Regions from separate parts of the Homo sapiens genome. Here region 2 is linked to region 1. The links are contacts of gene promoters, found by promoter capture Hi-C in human tissues and cell types (Jung and others, 2019). All regions are on one chromosome and are shown on one strand. The core of a region is centred on a gene start or on the middle of the fragment in contact, and the rest is flanking DNA. Distances in the headings are between cores, read along the strand shown. Region 1 holds the start of MFSD8 (major facilitator superfamily domain containing 8). Region 2 overlaps SCLT1 (sodium channel and clathrin linker 1).

What was found. The method cuts DNA at HindIII sites, captures the fragments that hold promoters and counts their contacts. A contact is called where the count stands out against the background at its distance.
Region 2: a contact is called between a fragment that was not itself captured here and the fragment with the promoter of MFSD8 in region 1, in 1 of the 25 tissues and cell types used here (dorsolateral prefrontal cortex).

The regions. Positions count from the first base shown.
Region 1 is chr4:127,963,397-127,967,148 of GRCh38, reverse strand. MFSD8 (major facilitator superfamily domain containing 8) reads left to right here and starts at 1,976. Exons shown (of 12, transcript NM_001371596.2): 1 at 1,976-2,077. The coding sequence starts at 2,016. ABHD18 (abhydrolase domain containing 18) reads right to left here and starts at 1,743. Exons shown (of 13, transcript NM_001358451.3): 1 at 1,543-1,743. RefSeq lists enhancers at 1-363, 364-865, 1,544-2,159, 1,750-2,169 and silencers at 1,260-1,489, 2,610-2,659, 2,670-2,799, 2,910-3,019. The HindIII fragment of the contact is 8,084 bases long and covers 1-3,752 here.
Region 2 is chr4:128,923,035-128,926,786 of GRCh38, reverse strand. The region is part of intron 18 of SCLT1 (sodium channel and clathrin linker 1); the gene reads left to right. Among named protein-coding and RNA genes, the nearest start is that of JADE1, 120 kb to the right of the region's middle. The HindIII fragment of the contact is 3,334 bases long and covers 247-3,580 here.

The sequences.
Region 1 (3,752 bases), core at 727-3,226:
CCCCTTGTCCACTATATATGTGCCATACATTGCTAGCCCCCAGGAATTAAAAAAGACAATATAATAAAGCGACATTATGGCAAGAAAATACTAACTTTTCTACCTATGTGTCTTTTTGGAACCAATAATACAAATCTGACTTGTTTTTGTGAGCTGTTACAAATGAATCTGCAAGACTGAATCCAAGTACAAAATATCAGGTCTTGATTTAGAAGATATTTCTGAATAGCACGTTTCAAGGTTTTTGGTTTTTTTTTTTTTTTTGAGACAGAATCTCACTCTGTTGCCCAGGCTGGAGTGCAGTGGCGTGATCTCGGCTCACTGCAGCCTCCGCCTCCCGGGTTCAAGGGATTCTCCTGCCTCAGCCTCCCGAGTAGCTGGGACTATAGGCGCCCGCCACCACGCCCGGCTTTTTTTTTTTTTTTTTTTTTTTTTTTTTTTTTTTTGTATTTTTAGTAGAGACGGGGTTTCACCGTGTTAGCCAGGATGGTCTCGATCTCCTGACCTCGTGATCCGCCCGCCTTGGCCTCCCAAGGTGCTGGGATTACAGGCATGAACCATCGCACCCAGACCGCACGTTTCAAGTTTAGGTGTTCACCAGTGAACTGCGCCTGGCTGATACACACAAGGTCACAAATGACACAAAGATCAGAAGTGATGGCATATACCATACATGACTGTGTAACTAGTATAGGACCTAGCATAGGGTAAATGCTCATAAATATTAATTTAAAAAAATTAAGTTTGGTTTCCAACTTTGCCACTTCCACACAGAGTGACTCTGGGTTAACTTGTCTGGATCTTAATTTTCAGTAAACTAGCAATGTGTCTGCTTCGCCTATCTCATAGGATACTTGTGATCAAATGAAATTACATGACAATGTATCTGGCGCTAATAAAACGGTAATTTATGAGACACAGAATGACTACTGACGCCAGCTAGCCTACAAGCCTAATAGTAGAGATAAGATGTTAATACATAACCACCAAGAAATAAACATGGAGATCTAGTGAAAACCCATGACATGTTTTCTAAAAATGTCATCTTCCTTGTGACGAAAGGAGCTGGTCATTGCTAGGCAGGTGCTGTACCTTTTTCAACTCCCACGTTTCAGCAGCAGGCTCTGCTGAGTGACATTTTGCAAGGCTGAGGCCCCCGTAGGCGCAGGCGCCGTTGGGGTGCGCATCCGGGGACCTGCAGGTTACAAGCAGCAGATCCCACCTTCAGTCCTGGCTCTGACAAGCCCTCCAGGTAAGGCGCCTTTGCATTTAGCCGAGCTAGAGAAGAGAGCTGGAAGCCACCTCTACCTTTCACGGGGGGAAGGGACTGCCCGCGCGCTCGCCCCCATTATCTCAGCCCTCCGAAGCGCGCCACGGACTCCAGCCTTGTCTCTCACCCCCAGCCTCACCCCGCGTCCCTGACCCGCGAGTCTCCCGCCCAGCTCCGCGTCCCCGGTCCCTGCCTCCAGGCGCGTACACGGCGCGCTAAGAGGCGCGGGGAGCTCTTAGCGCACCTACTACTTAACCGGACCGGCTACTTACTGGCCGCCAGGTGGAAGCCTGCGATCGAGCTGGCCGGGCCTCCCAGCACCGCCGCTCTCCAGGCTCCCTTTCCAGGACTCAACTTTGGTCCCAGCCCCAATCGCAGCTCCGGTAACCTTTCCAGGAACCGAAATGCTAGATACAGCGGAAGGAGAAACGGAGGGAGGAAGACAAACCCGGAGCAGGGCGGCGCGGCAGTTTGGACACGCCCCGAGCTCTCCTGGGCTCTCAGTCCCCGTCAGGATGGGAGGCGCGTGCCGAGGGAGGAGGCTGAGGACACAGCCTCCTTTCGCCCTGCGCTGCCCGGCCTTCCGCGTGACCCCGCCTATGACCTCGGGGCGTTCCGCCTACGTCTGACCGTCAGGTGCGCACGCGCACTTACAGGCTTGTTTTGCCAGCTTCACGCCACCCGGGATGGGAGAAAGCAGGTGTCGCGAGAGTTGGGCGCAAGACGCCTTGTAGGGAGTGTAACTATGGCCGGCCTGCGGAACGAAAGTGAACAGGAGCCGCTCTTAGGCGACACACCTGGAAGCAGGTGAGCGGATCCTGGTGGAGGGACCCCTCAGTCTCCTGCGCTGTTGGGACTGGTTCCTTTCCGGGCGTCACCCGCACTGGGACAAACCCTCGCTGCCAGAGGGGTTCCAGCGCGGTGGGAGCCGGTGGCTGGGTTGTGTGAGCCGAGGAGATTCGCTCCCAACGTAGGAGAAAGGGCGTCTGGCCGCACCGTGCGGTGATGAGCCCGTGGGTTCGAGTGACGGGGCTGGAGAAACCCAGGCTGCTGCTTTGCCTGTTGCAGCACCCAAGCTGAGAGGTGACAGCGTGCTGGCAGTCCTCACAGCCCTTGCTCGCTCTCCAGGCCTCCTCTGCCTGGGCTCCCACTTTGGCGGCACTTGAGGAGCCCTTCAGCCCACCGCTGCACTGTGGGAGCCCCTTTCTGGGCTGGCCAAGGTGGGAGCCGGCTCCCTCAGCTTGCAGGGAGGTGTGGTGGGAGAGGCGTGAGCGGGAACCGGGGCTGCGCGCCGCGCTTGCGGGCCAGCTGGAGTTCCGAGTGGGCGTGGGCTTGGCGGGCCCCGCACTGGGAGCAGCAGGCCGGCCCTGCCGGCCCCGGGCAATGAGGGGCTTAGCACCCGGGCCAGCGGCTGCGGAGGGTGTGCTGGGTCCCCCAGCAGTGCCAGCCCACTGGCGCTGCGCTCGATTTCTCGCCGGGCCTTAGCTGCCTTCCCGCGGGGCAGGGCTCGGGACCTGCAGCCCGCCATGCCTGAGCCTCCCACCCACTCCGTGGGCTCCTGTGCGGCCCGAGCCTCCCCGATGAGCGCCGCTCCCTACTCCACGGTGCCTAGTCCCATCGACCACCCAAGGGCTGAGGAGTGCGGGTGCACGGCGCGGGACTGGCAGGCAGCTCCACCTGCAGCCCCGGTGCGGGATCCACTGGGCGAAGCCAGCTGGGCTCCTGAGTCTGGTGGAGACGTGGAGAACGTTTATGTCTAGCTCAGGGATTGTAACTACACCAATCGGCACTCTGTATCTAGCTCAAGGTTTGTAAACACACCAATCAGCACCCTGTGTCTAGCTCAGGGTTTGTGAATGCACCAGTCGACACTCTGTATCTAGCTACTCTGGTGGGGCCTTGGAGAACCTTTCTGTCAACACTCTGTATCTAGTTAATCTAGTGGGGACGTGGAGAACCTTTGTGTCTAGCTCAGGGATTGTAAACGCACCAATCAGCGCCCTGTCAAAACAGACTACTCGGCTCTACCAATCAGCAGGATGTGGGTGGGGCCAGATAAGAGAATAAAAGCAGGCTGCCCACCAGTAGTGGCAACCCGCTGAGGTCCCTTTCCACAGTGTGGAAGCTTTGTTTTTTCGCTCTTTGCGATAAATCTTGCTACTGCTCACTCTTTGGGACCATACGGCTTTTATGAGCCGTAACACTCACCGCGAAGGTCTGCAGTTTCACTCCTGAAGCCAGCGAGACCACGGGGAGGAACGAACAACTCCAGACGCGCCGCCTTAAGAGTTGTAACACTCACCACGAAGGTCTGCAGCTTCGCTCTTGAGCCAGCGAGACCACGAACCCACCAGAAGGAAGAAACTCTGAACACATCTGAGCATCAGAAGGAACAAACTCCAGACGTGCCACCTTAAGAGCTGTTAACACTCACCGCGAGGGTCCGCAGCTTCATTCTTGAAGTCAGTGAGACCAAGAACCC
Region 2 (3,752 bases), core at 664-3,163, 960 kb before region 1:
AATTACTATTCATTTAGTAAAAAATATATTACTGTTACAAACTATATATGAACAGTAATAAATGTAAAACAAAGTAATAAATATATATGAACAGTAATATATTTATTGTATATTACTGAATGAGATACTAGAAGCAATGTAGAATAAAGTAATAAATATATATGAACAATACTATTCTCATACATTCCATCTGGGACTACTTTCCTTATGTCTGAATTATGTCTTTCAGAAGTTCCTTTGGTAAAGATCTACTGGTGGTGAATTCTCAACTGCTGCTCATAAAATATATTTACTTTTTGTTTATTCTTGAAAGATATTTTTGCTGGGTATGGAATTCCAAGTTGACAGGTGTTTTCTTCTAGAACATTAAAGATAACATCTTTGGGAGCTGTGAACTGACAAAACATCAAGAGTTTATGCAGTAATAAGAGACATGAGAGTTCCAGTCGGCCAGAGTGGAACATCCTTGTTGAACACCCAGAGTATACAATAAAGATTTCAGGATCACTTTATCCTATTGTTAAAACTAAACTAGCCTAGAGTAAAAAGAATTGAAAATCTGTCTTGAAAAAGCTAAAAACAAGCTTCAAAATGAACAAGCTGGTCCTCAAGTAACTTAATTACCTGCCAGAACAAATCCAACAAAATAGATAAACAAAAGCAGGAAAATGGTACCCATAACCAGAAAAAAAGAAAAACAAAAACTAGTGCATCAAAACACACCCAGAAATGAGAGGGGATAAAATTATTATTTTTTTAATTTTTATTAATTAATTAAAATTATTAAAACATGAGAACTTTAAACCAGCCATTGTAAATATTCTTAGTGATTTAAAGGAACACATGAAGATGATAAGGAGAGAAGTGGAAGATGCAAAAAAGGAACCAATGGAAACCTGTGGATGAAAAATATTAGAGAATTTTAAAACTCACAAAATGGGATTAACAGCAGATCATACACTGCACAAGAAAAGATCAGAGAACTTGAAGAGAGCGAAAGAAACCATCCAAAAATGAAACATAGTGAGAAAAAAAGACCAAAGAAAAATTATGCACAGAGAGCCTCAGAGACTTTAGGGACAATATCAAGCAGTATAAAATACATACAACTGTAGTCCCAGGAGGGCAGGGATGGGAGTGTGGGAGTGTTTTAAGAAATAATGGGCCAGACACCGTGGCTGACGCCTGTAATCCTAGCACTTTGGGAGGCCAAGGCAAGTGGATCACTTGAGGTCAGGAGTTCGAGACCAGCCTGGCCAACATGGTGAAACCCCATCTCTGCTAAAAATACAAAAATTAGCCAGGAGTGGTGGCACATGCCTGTAATCTCAGCTACTTGGGAGGCTGAGGCAGGAGGCAGAGGTTGCAGTGAGCCAAGATCATGCCGCTGCACTCCAGCCTGGATGACAGAGTGAGACTCCAGCTCCAAAAAAAAAAAGAACTAACGGCCAAATTTTTTCCAAACTTGATGAAAACGCTTTGTGTAGTTATCTACTACTGCATAACAAATTGCTCCAAAATTTAGTGACTTAAAACAGCGAACATTTATTTTCTCACAGTTTTTGAGGATTAGGAATCTAGACATGTCTGAATCAGAATGCCTCTGACTCAGGGTTTCTCATAAAGTTGCAATCAACGCATTGACTAAAGCTGCATTATCTCAGAGCTTGACCAGGAAAGGATCTGCTCCCAAGCTCACTCTGTAGGTGTTGGCAGGCCTCGGGTCTTAACTGGCATTGGCAGGAGACATCAGTTCCTTGCCTTGTTGGTCTCTTTATGGGTCTAAAATGTGGTAGCTTGCTTCCCTCAGAGTGAGGAGAGAGGAGTGAGGGAGAAAGGGAAGGAAGTTGAAAGAGAGAAAGTAAAACAAAAGTCAAGATCTTTGTTTAAGCTAATCTTGAAAGTGACATCATATCACGTTAACCATATTCTATCAATTAAAAGTGAGTCCCTGGGTAGAGCCCACATAGGTGAGACTTCATAAGGACCTCATAAGGTAGGGATCATTGAGGTTCGTTTCAGAGCTTACGTGCCACGCCATTACATCACACCATACACAAAAATAACCTGAAATGAATCATAGACCTAAGCATAAAAAAGGAAAACAATAAAATATCTAAAAGAAAATCTTATGATAAGCAAAAATTTCTTCCAAGACACAATAATAAAGTACAAAAAATTTGATAAAGTGGACTATATTAAATTAAAAACTTCTGGCCAGGGGCAGTGGCTCATGCCTGTAATCCCAACACTTTTAGAGGTCAAGGTGGGCAGATCAGCTTGAGGCTAGGAGTTCAAAACCACTCTGGCTAACAAGATGAAACCCCCGTCTCTACTAAAAATACAAAAAATTAGCCAGGTATAGTGGCCCACACTTGTAATCCCAGCTACTCAGGAAGCTGAAGAGCGAGAATTGCTTGAGCCTGGGAGGTGGTGAGCCAAGATTGTGCTACTGCACTCCAGCCTGTGCCACAGAGCAAGACTCTGTCTCAAATATAAATAAATAATAAAAAATAAAAATAAATAAAATTTTTAAAATGTCTGCTTTTCAAAAGCCACCATTAAGAAAATGAAAAAAGACTGTGAGAAAAAAATTGCAATTAGTATATCTGACAAAGTACTTGATTTTTTTTTAATCTTACAACTCAGTAATAATAGACAATTTTACTGCAAAGTTAAATGTATACTCATCATGCAGACATGCAGTTTTACTCACAGATGTTACCCAAGAGAAATGAAAACACATCCACACATAGACCAACCTGGGCAACAGAGTGAGACCTCGTCTCTACAAAATAAAAAATAATAAAATTAACCAGGCATGGCAGTGCATGCCTAAAGTCCCAGATACTTGGGAAGCTGAGGTAGGAGGATCACCTGAGCCTGGGAGTTTGCAGCTGTGAACCCTGATCATGCCACTGCACTCCAGCCTGGGCAACAGACCAAGACTCTTTCCAAAAATAAAACCAAAATATATCGACACAAAAAACCTGTACACAAATGTTTGTAGATATTTATAATGGCTGAAAATGAGAACCCAAATGTACATCACCAGGTGCATGGATAAACACTCAGAAATAAAAAGGAACAAACCACTGATACACTCAACAACATGGATGAATCTCAAAAAGGAGATTGAAAAAAAAACAGATATAGAAGACTATATACTGTATGATCCCATATGTGTGAAATTCTAGAGAAGGCAATTCTAATTTATAATGATAAAACAGTTTGGATGCCTAGGACTGGGATTTGAGGGGTGGGGCAGTGACTACAAAAGGGAAGAGGGAACTTTTTAGGGCAATGGACCTATTCTGTATCTTTTTTTTTTTTTTTTTTTTTGAGATGGAGTCTCACTCTGTCACCCAGGCTGGAGTGCAGTGGCACGATCTTGGTTCACTGCAACCTCTGCCTCATGGGTTCAAGCGATTCTTCTGCCACAGCCTCCCAAGTAGCTGGGATACAGGCATGTGCCACCACGCCCAGCTAAATCTTGTATTTTTAGTAGAGACGGGGTTTCACCATATTGGCGAGGCTGGTCTCAAACTCCTGACCTCAAGTGATCCACCTGCCTCGGCCTCCCAAAGTGCTGGGATTACAGACATGAGCCACCGCATGTGGCTTATTCTGTATCTTAATTGCAGCGGTGGTTACATGAGTGTATGCTTTTGTCAGAGCTCACCAAACTCTACACTCAAAATGGCTGCACCTTATTTCCCACAATTATATCCCAATGAGGTTGATTTTAAAAC